3 separate regions of the Homo sapiens genome follow, and all the other regions are linked to region 1. The links are contacts of gene promoters, found by promoter capture Hi-C in blood cells and fetal thymus (Javierre and others, 2016). All regions are on one chromosome and are shown on one strand. Each heading gives the region's core, a stretch centred on a gene start or on the middle of the fragment in contact. The rest is flanking DNA. Distances are from core to core; before and after follow the strand shown. Region 1 holds the start of RAMP3 (receptor activity modifying protein 3). Region 2 overlaps ADCY1 (adenylate cyclase 1). Region 3 has its middle 15 kb from the start of MIR4657.

The links. Contacts are between HindIII fragments. The CHiCAGO score rates a contact against its expected background, and 5 or more counts as called.
Region 2: a fragment that was not itself captured here is called in contact with the fragment with the promoter of RAMP3 in region 1 in 1 of 17 cell types (M2 macrophages); the score reaches 5.5 in M2 macrophages.
Region 3: a contact is called between a fragment that was not itself captured here and the fragment with the promoter of RAMP3 in region 1, in 1 of 17 cell types (non-activated CD4 T cells). The highest score is 5.0, in non-activated CD4 T cells.

What each region holds. Positions count from the first base shown.
Region 1 is chr7:45,156,044-45,159,288 of GRCh38, forward strand. RAMP3 (receptor activity modifying protein 3) reads left to right here and starts at 1,748. Exons shown (of 3, transcript NM_005856.3): 1 at 1,748-1,843. The coding sequence starts at 1,786. The HindIII fragment of the contact is 23,160 bases long and covers 1-2,477 here.
Region 2 is chr7:45,643,176-45,646,420 of GRCh38, forward strand. The region is part of intron 4 of ADCY1 (adenylate cyclase 1); the gene reads left to right. Among named protein-coding and RNA genes, the nearest start is that of ADCY1, 70 kb to the left of the region's middle. RefSeq lists an enhancer at 2,527-3,245. The HindIII fragment of the contact is 269 bases long and covers 1,374-1,642 here.
Region 3 is chr7:44,865,091-44,868,335 of GRCh38, forward strand. No RefSeq gene overlaps it. Among named protein-coding and RNA genes, the nearest start is that of MIR4657, 15 kb to the right of the region's middle. The HindIII fragment of the contact is 1,784 bases long and covers 868-2,651 here.

The DNA.
Region 1 (3,245 bases), core at 498-2,997:
TTCCAGCCTGCAAGCTATGTGCAACCGCCTTTGGGGCTGTGGGACCGAGTGGAGACTAAGACTCTCCTGGAGAGAGCTGTAGGGCCGAGTCTGTGTGGGATGTGGGTGGACACCTGGGCCTGGACCATCCTCTTGGTTTGTCTTGGCTGGTGTAGGGTGTGCGTGTGTGTAAGCCAGCCCCCTGCTGCCCTGGTCAGCTTGTTTTATGACCCCTGGCCTGTGGGCAGAAGGCCTGGCTGTGGGCACCATCAGTCTCACTAGAGGCTCTGTGGCCACCCCTACACCTGCTGCCCACCCCTCAGGCAGAAGGCAGGACAAATGATCAATTTTAATTAGTTTTGACTCCTTTGAATTAATTCTGGCTGTAATCAGAATTTCTTCAGTAAAAAAGCACAGAAAGTTCTTCTCCCGAATAAGGGTCTTGTTAAATAAAGTGGGTCTTTCTAAGCCAGGAGAAGTTCAGCTCAGCTCCTGGGAAGGTAGCAGTACCTACGGCTCAGAGGAGTGGAGGGCCCATCCATGTAGGAGCCTGGGCCTGTGCCCCAACCTCAGACCAGCATGTGCCCCCAGGGGTGGTGGGTGGGCCCTGGAGGGCAGAGAGGTGCCTCTAGCTGGCTCTCGGAAGTCCTGACCAGTGACAATTCTTAAGACACCATTAAGTGTCCACTGGAGCCAGGGCCTGTGCTAGGGGCTGAGGGTGACAGAGGTGACCCATCTGGCCAAGTGACCTGTGGCTGGAGAAACTGAGGCCCTCCTTCGCCTCAGGGACCCTGACACTCTTCAAGGCCAGGTCTTTGGTGGTGCCAGATACTCTCCTGTCCCTTGGTTTGCTTGTGGCTTGGTTCTTGGTGTGTGATACGTCTCTGTGTGTGTAGTTGCCACACCCTCCAGTCTCTCTCATACACACTGTTTCCCAAGCATACACTCACAAACACACCTTGTCTCAGACTCAAACACACACATGCCACACACACACCATACATCACACACTCCATGCACACACATGCATCTACACACACCCCACATGCACATCACACACACGTACTCCATGAACAACACACACACGCACACACACAGACGCACACACACACACCCCCCAACCTCTTTTATGCACTTTCCTGACCTTTGGAGACCTGGCTCCTAGATGTATCTCTGCTCAAAGTTCCCCTCCCTGCCTGGGGGCAGCTCTGGACTCTGGTCTACTTTCGGCCAGGGCACACCTAGCCCACTCCCAGGTCCACCTTCCTCCAGTCTACCCCCAGACTCCTCTAGGCCATCATCAGCCAGCGCTTCATCCTCACCTCAGCTCCCTCCCCGGTCTACCCCCACCCTCTGCCCCTGAGCCTGGACGGAAGTTCCCCAAGTCTCTCCAGCCTGCATCCCAGCCCACCGTCAGCCGGCCCCCACGCTCACCCCAGCTCACCTCCCAGTCTGCCCCTACAATCTGCTCCCAAAAAGCTCCTTTGCAGCTCAGCACCCCAGCCCCGCCCTCAGAGCCCATCAGCCGGCACCCCACCTTACCCCAGCTTGTCCCCAGCTCGAAACCCTGCCCTCGCCCCCCTCTCACCCCGCTGAGACTCCAGCCGCCCCCATCCCTCCCACCCGGCGCGCCTGCAGGGACTGCACCCCACATCTGGAGGCAACGGGGCACGGCCGCAGGCGTGGTCTGGGGGTGCGGCCTGAGGGCGGACCCCCTGAGGCCCCGCCCCACCCCAACCCCAACCGGGCGTCCCCCAGCCGCGCCCCCAGCGGGACCGAGCGTGACCCAGCTGCGGCCGGCCAGCCATGGAGACTGGAGCGCTGCGGCGCCCGCAACTTCTCCCGTTGCTGCTGCTGCTCTGCGGTAAGGGGGCGACGGCCCGCACCGGGGGCGCCCCCACTCCTCGGGGTTCACCGGACCCGGGTGGACCCGCGCCTTCCCGCACCTGCGCCGCGGTCCTTCCCTTGCCCCGGAGCTCGGGAGGGGCGCACAGTGACCCTGGCGGGATTCCCAGGCTCTGCGGGAGGGTTCCACCCGGGAGAAGCTGAAGGCGAAGGACTCTGGCGGGCAAGGGAGGCACAGGGCCCCCTCCGGGGTCTTCTGACGGCAGGGTCCGGCAGCCCCCGGTCCTTCTAGTTGTGATGTCCCCCCACGCCCCGGTTCTGGGGTCGCCTCAGGGTGGGCGAGAAGAGGTGGACCAGGTCTGGCTCTTTACCCCTTATCCCCCAGGGTGGGCTGTCTGTAAGGTAGTGAGCTCTCTGTCCTGGCATTGAGTGCCTGCCCACCACTCACAGGGGCGTGGGCGGGTGGACTCCGGACTGGGTAGCTGGTCCTCCCAGGGCCCCTCAGTGTGTGGACGCCTGTGTGTGTCCTGGAACTGGCTGAGAGGGGAAGCGGGGCGACTCTCTGAGCCATCCTCTCCTAATGCCTTCTTCGGCAAGAAATCAGGACTCTAGGAAGAACCATTGCTCACAAAATGGAAATAGATTAAACTAAAAGCTTGTTTTGAAGTACCTTGCTAAAGAAATTATCCAAGAAAAAGTAAGAGAGAGAGAGAGAGAGAGAATGTGTGTAAAGGCTGTTGGGGAAGAGTGCTTGCTGAGGGCTGGGGTCCACTGAGTGGTGACTGAGCCTGGCCAGTTCTGGGGGGGACATTGGTGATGGAGGGCCCTGGCCTGGTGGTCCCCAGTTTCCCTGGCTGTAAGATGCAGAGTTGGGCCTGTTTTGATGATTTGGGATTTGGTACGGGAGGTGGGAAAAGGGTGGACCAAACTCAGTGGTCATTTTCCTTCCATTGAAGAGGTCTTGGTGTGCAGAACTTGTGTGGCTTCATTTGGTGTTCCAGGGCTGGAGCCTAGGATGTGGTGGATTTTGTGTTGAAGTGCAAAGGTGGATGGCAGCTTCTGAAATCAGGAGCATGCTGATTTGGGATTTCAGCAAACTTCCAGTGAGCGCCCCTTAGGTGGAGATCTTGGTCGCTATAGTGGAAGGAAGGTCCTCTCAATTCATTCTGGGAGAAGCTGAGGCTTTCCTGATCATCTCCAGTATCAAATTGAGAAGGACCACAGGCTTCCGCCTGCACAGAATCCCCCCTTAATAATCCTGTCTCTCGTGGACCCAGTTCCTGAGGGCCACTTCTTTGTCCTGTTGTGTTGGTCCTGACTGTCCCCCTCCAATGGGACATGGGTTCACGCTCCCTGGCCAGAATAGGGACCAGGTCCAGCTTCTCAGCAGACCCTCCCAGTGTTCGACTGGCCAGAGTGAG
Region 2 (3,245 bases), core at 258-2,757, 490 kb after region 1:
CTAGAAGGCCTGGTTTCTTTCAGTGGGAAATGGTTTTTCAACACCATAATCTGGGTTGTAATTGGTCCGAGGCTTTTTAGGGCATTGAGATAGGATTTTTTTTTTAGGAAAATAAAAATAAATTATGAGTTTATATTGATATTTCCAATTCACTTCACTCCTTGGATTTTTATATTTGTATCTTTTTGGTGATGCTGAAAATTCTAATGACAGTAATATTATTTATTTCATCTTTCCATATATAGTAGGCTCAAAATAACATTGCCAATATTATTTTCAACAATAAGTCTGCTGAATGCAATTGGAGATTTCTTTGTGGTTATTTTTGTCCTTGCATTATATTCTACCAGACATACAGTCAAATATGCATTTTCTCATCGCTCGAAATAATTCTTCTCTCTGTGGTCATGCTGGTAACAGGTTTATTTCATTTTGGTTTTGATCTTTTAGGTATAACTGTTTTTAATTTTTCTTTTTAGGCACATAAAATAATTGCATGGTTCAGTTCCACAGTAAAAAACCGAAGTCGAGGTACATGGAGAGACCCCTCCCTTGCTCACTGTTCCTCCCGTGCGTGTAGTTAGATGTTTGTGCTGGGTTTCCCCTTGCCCCTCCATGGTTCCTTTTGGTTTCTTTTTGATGCTGGTAGTGCATGCACTGTGAAACTGTTCCTGGAGAGTGCTTCCCAACAGGGCACGCTGATTCCTCAGTCCTCCCCTGAGGCAGGGAGGCTTCCGGGGACCTGATTTGATCCTGTTGATGAACAGGTGTCTGCAGAGTTCTTGTGTTTCAGCTCTTCTGCGCTATCTCTGTAGCAGGAAGCTTCCTCTAGGGTTTTCTAAAATTTCTTATTTCGTTCTTCCACTGATAGCCAAACACTCCAGTCTTACAAAGTTAATTGGACTTGGCCAGTTTGGGTTTTGGATGCAGTCACTTTCGGGCAAAAACTGGATTGATTCAGGCTTTTCATCCTCTCCTTCTCCCAGGTATCTGTTTTCTTAGAATTGGGATGCAGTGTGCGAGTCCATGACCTCTCTGGACTCTACTGTTTTAGAGCTGGCCCTAGAGCGGCCTGGGCATGTCAGAGCTCTGGAATTGGCAGTGGATCTTCCTGAGCCACTGACTCTCTGCTTTCTTCTAGACGTTACCTCTGTGCCCTTCTGGGACGGGTCCTGGGGCTGGGCAGGGTCAGAGTGCACTGGCCTATGTGAGCCCTTTTTGTTCTAGACCCTTCTCTGTGGCTGCCTGCTCAGTCAAGGCCATGATGGGCCCAGACTGTCTGCAAGCTGGCCGCAGCTCTTTAGGCCATACCTGGAGCAAATCAGGAGACTTTCCTATCTGGATTCTCCTGCAGTGGCTCTGTTATACTGAGAAGCTTCTGTTGTCATGTCACCTGCCTGTAGTCCTGTCCCTTTCAAGCCTGGGAGGGAGGGGGCAGCTCTTGTCCCTTAGGGCTGAACATGCCTCTGAGCCCCTGCCAACCCTCCATCTCATCTTCTTCTTTCTTCTTTTGGAGGAGACACAACACTTCCTGTGGTGCTTTATTGCAGTGGACTCTAGGTGCTGACTTTCCATATTTATACAAAAGAGTCTAAAATCAGAAACACTAAAACCAATTAGAAATACCTTTTTTGATCTCTTAAGCTTGCTAACAAAAGCCAGGGCCTCTGAGATTAAAGACAAAATAAAGCAATATATTCAACATTTGTCCTAAGCTGTCTCCACTAGTGCCAGCGTGGTGGAGGTGGGTGGGAAAGGGATGCCATGAGGGCCCAGGAGGGTTCTCAGCTTTGCATCTCAGAACAGTTTCCAGAGACTCATGTGTGATGCTGAGTGAGCTGGATATGTGCACACATGTGTGTATGGTATGAGTTGCCCAGGTTCTAGGAGAGGATTGCTGTTCTAAAGACAAGTGTTCTGGACAATTTCTTTAGAATACACAAGCCCTCATCTGCTTGTAAGGCCTTGCCACATGACCATGTGCATGTGGATAGCCTGTGCTAGATGGCTTTGCCCTTGGTCCTCATGCAGAGATAGGTTCTCCCCACTCACAGCTCGCCCACACCATGCAGTGACGGTCACACTTGAGGCTCCGTGGGCATCTCTTTAGCCTTCATTCCCGTGTGCTATTTATGCCTCCTTTTACATAGGACTCCTGTAGGGATGGTAATTGAAGATTCCACCCCAGCCAGCCCCACAGCAATGTCCTTTTCTGCGGTGGCCATGCCAAGTCTTGGTGTCAAATAGGATAGTTGGGTTGACAGGGTGGGCTGTTTGGAGCAGCTGTACTGACAGGCCCCACCTTTGCCTTTTACCCTGGAGGCCCTGCTACCATCAGATCTGACTGGCCTGTTCACTCATGCACACTCATCCCTTCAGCAGCCTTGTCCTGCACACCTGTCCCACTCCAGGGATAGGCTTGTTCTGGACTCACAGAGATGACCAGGAGGCCCTGGTAACCACGGGACCCTGGAAGGATGCTGGGAACACAGCTCAGAGCTGAGGTGGGGGCAGGGACACTAGCAGTTGCCCACAATCCCTGAGTCCACTCACGCACATGAGATGCAGGGATGATCAGGGACCCACATCACCCTCAAAGTCCTTGACGTCCAGAGCACAGGTCCTTAGAGTTGGGGATTGGTGACCCTCCCAAAACCATGTGCAAGAAGAGTTCCAGCAGCCAGTGGGCATTGTGGCTCTTGTGGGCTCCCAGAGGGGTCTTGAGCCCTCATTTGGGCCTCTGAGAAGAAATCCTGATGTGTCAGGGCTATCATCACAGGTTGTGAGTGCTCACGGGGTTTCTAATCTCAGGGAGGGGGTGGGAGGTGGCAAGGGCTGGGTGGAGGAAGCCTGAGTATGAGGTGTGGCCGCTTCCCCTTCCTGGCAAGCCCTGTGCATTCAGGCCTGTGTCTGACCGTTGGGGACATTTGGGGGATGTTTGGAAGCAGGCCTGAATGCACAGAGCACACCAGGGCAGTGCCAATGGGGACAGGGTAGTGTCCCAGGAGAGAGCCCAGAGCTGACTGTGGGCCTGGAGGCTCTGGTGAGTATGGCTTGAGAAGGCTGTCCGGTCGCATCCCTGGTGAGTCCCTGAGGGGTCCTGCCTTCAGTTTTGCAGGACAGAGACTGGCGCTGGCAGCCCACGCTGGAGTCCAGTGAATGGTCATTCAAGCTGGGCCCTGAGGGGCTGGCACTGGAACCAGGCAGCAACCATGTGTCCAGGTCACTTTTGTGGCCTCTTGGCT
Region 3 (3,245 bases), core at 510-3,009, 290 kb before region 1:
TTTTCTCAGACCCAGGCAAAGTAGGACCAGGAAGGTCTGAAGGAGAGGAGGCTCATGCTTGCATATCTGAAATAAGAACTGTTTCCAAGGACTTTCTAAAAATCCTTTCATATCCTTCACAAATCTCCTGCTTTGATAAGGTTTATCACTAGACATTCTTTAGGATTTCAGTAATTCGGTTAAGATGTTCTTGAAAGAACACTTGCATCTCCACCAAGGAACTGACAACTCTGGCTTTGAACCTCTGGAAGTGATGAACTCTGTTTCCAAGCAGCTTATGTAATCTCTTTTTGCTAATAAAAGCTCCCCTCACCCTTCCCTCACTAAATGCACTTGTAGCTTGCCATTTCATGCACTCTAGATTTCTTTCTTTTCTTTTTTTTTTTTTTTTTTGAGACAGAGTCTCACTCTGTCGCCCAGGCTGGACTGCAGTGGCGCGATCTTGGCTGACTGCAATCTCTGCCTCCCAGATTCAAGCGATTCTCCTACCTCAGCCTCCCAAGTAGCTGGGATTACAGGCGCATGCCACCATGCCTGGCTAATTTTTTTTTGTATTTTTAGTAGAGACGGGGTTTCGCTATGTTGGCCAGGCTGATCTCGAACTCCTGACCTCAGGTGATCTGCCCACCTCAGCCTTTCAAAGTGGTGGGATTACAGATGTGAGCCACTGCGCCCAGCTGCACTCTAGATTATAATCCTTATTTCTATTCCAGAGTAAACCCAACACCCAACATATTTAGAGTTAATTTTTTTCTAGTGTCTTTTTTTTTCAGGTTGACAGGGTAATTGATATAAACAAGAGTTAAGTTCCTACAGCATATTTCTGGTCACAAAAACATTACCAAACTTCTAAATAAAGACCCAAAAAGCTTCTAATATTAAACATTGAAATAAATTTGAGCTATACATACATTTAAGAAAGATTAATAAAAACAGGCTGGACACGGTGGCTCACGCCTGTAATCCTAGCACTTTGGGAGGCCAAGGTGGGCAGATCACCTGAGGTCAGGAGTTCAAAACCAGCCTGACCAACATGGTGAAACCCAGTCTGTACTAAACATACAAAAAAAATTAGCTGGGCATGGTGGCGCACACCTGTAGTCCCAGCTATGCAGGAAGCTGAGGCAAGAGAATTGCTTGAATCTGGGAGGTGGAGGTTGCAGTGAGCTGAGATTATGCCACTGCACTCCAGCCTGGATGACAGAGTGAGACTCCATCTCAAAAAAAAAAAAAAAAAAAAGATTAATAAAAACAAGTAGGATAATTATTTGCCTCATTTTTGGTGAATGAATGAGTGATGACTGTCACAGTGGGGTGGGTTAAATTAAGGAATAAATGTTTATAAAGCAAAATTTGTAAGGAATGGCCTCTGCTACCACACAGTTAAAAAACAATCACACATTTGGCAGGCTCACTGAGCAATTTCATTCCTCATTGTTCATTGCCTATTGTCATGCATTTGTATAATTATCATATTCTTTACCAATTTTTATTTTATAATAATTTGTATTCATTTATCCATACATTGATTTTCTAACCCATTTATTCCAGTTCAGGGTTGTGGGTGGCTGGAGCCTATCCTGGCAGTTGAGGGTACAAGGTGGGAGCCAATCCTGGACTGAATGCTATTCTACACACGGCACATGAACTCAGACTGGGACACTTTAGACATGCCAATGAACCTAACCTGCACATCGTTGGGATGTGGGAGGAGACCAGAGTACCCAGAGAAAACCCACACAGTCATGGAGAGAAGGTGCTCTAGAACACACCCCAGCAATGATGTCAGGCGTAGCCTCAGAGGGTGGATGGGAGCAGCTTGCAGGGAAATTGAGAGAGCTGGCTCCACTCCCAAGCCCCCCTTCTTTTGAGACAGGGTCTCATTCTGTTGACGAGGCTGGAGTGCAGTGGTATCATCATGGCTCACTGCAGGCTTGATCTCCCAGGGTTGGGTGATCCTCCCACCTCAGCCTTCCAAGTAGCTGGGACTACAGGCACATGGCACCATGCCTGGCTAATTTTTTATATTTTTTAATAGAGGTGAGGTCTCACCATGTTGCCCAGGCTAGTCTTGAACTCCTGAACTCAAACGATCCACCCACTTCAGCATCCCAGAGTGCTGGGATCAGGAGCCACCTGCCTGGCCCTGGCTCCCTTAAAGTGTGACCTTTGAAGGCAAAATGGTAGGTACAATATAAAACACTGCAACAAACCCTGATAATTCCCACGCTTGTTTCTATCCTAAGTCTTGCCCACAAAAGAGAAAACCTATAGCTGACAAAGGTTTGGGAGAGTTCAGCAGGTGTAATCAAAATAGAGTTTGCAGTCCCCACCAGAAAAGATGTGGTGTCAGATGAGGAGCAGATAAATGAGAGCACTGCTCTGATGAGTCACTTGCCTAAGTGATGTCACCAGCTGGGTTTTCACTGCCAGAAAATCAGCAGCTGCTGGACTAGAACATTCCACATCGCTGACAACAGCTCTTCTTCCTTCAGAAGTTTGTTTTCTGCCATTCTGCCAGAACACCTAGCATGCTTTCTCTTTTTATGTTATTTATACTAGAAGGTGAGGAACCTGCCTTTATGTTCTGAACTATGCATGATAGAGGACCCAATTAAAAAAAAAAAAACTCTTTCAGAATTCCAAGCCAAAGCTTCAAGGCCAGAAGCAGCTAGATGTAAATAAGGGCAGGGATTTTTTTATGCAGAGAAACAACTCACTTAAGGTCATACAACAAGCCAGTAAAGACAATACATTTTCTTATTCTTAAACTTAGCCATCATCTCATAAGGCCAATTGGATCCCAGTACTCCTTCATCCAGTGAATTATCAGCAGAGAATCACTTCATTTAGTGACTTGTTCATTTTATTTATTTATTTTTTTTGAGACGGAGTCTAGCTCTGTCACCTCGCCCAGGCTGGAGTGCAGCAGTGCGAATCTCGGCTCACTGCAGCCTCCACCTCCAAGGTTCAAGCAATTCTCCCGCTTCAGCCTCCCGAGTAGCTGGGATTACAGGTGCGTTCCGCCACACCTGGCTAATTTTTGTATTTTTAGTAGAGATGGGGTTTCACCATGTTGGCCAGGCTGGTCTCGAACTTCTGACCTCAAATGATCCACCTGCCTTAGCCTCCCAAAGTGCTGGGATTACAGGCATGAGCCACCGCGCCTGGCCAACTTGTTCATTTTAAATGTAAGTTGTTTAACTCAAAGGGAAATATGCACCTATTAGGTGATTTTTTTTTTT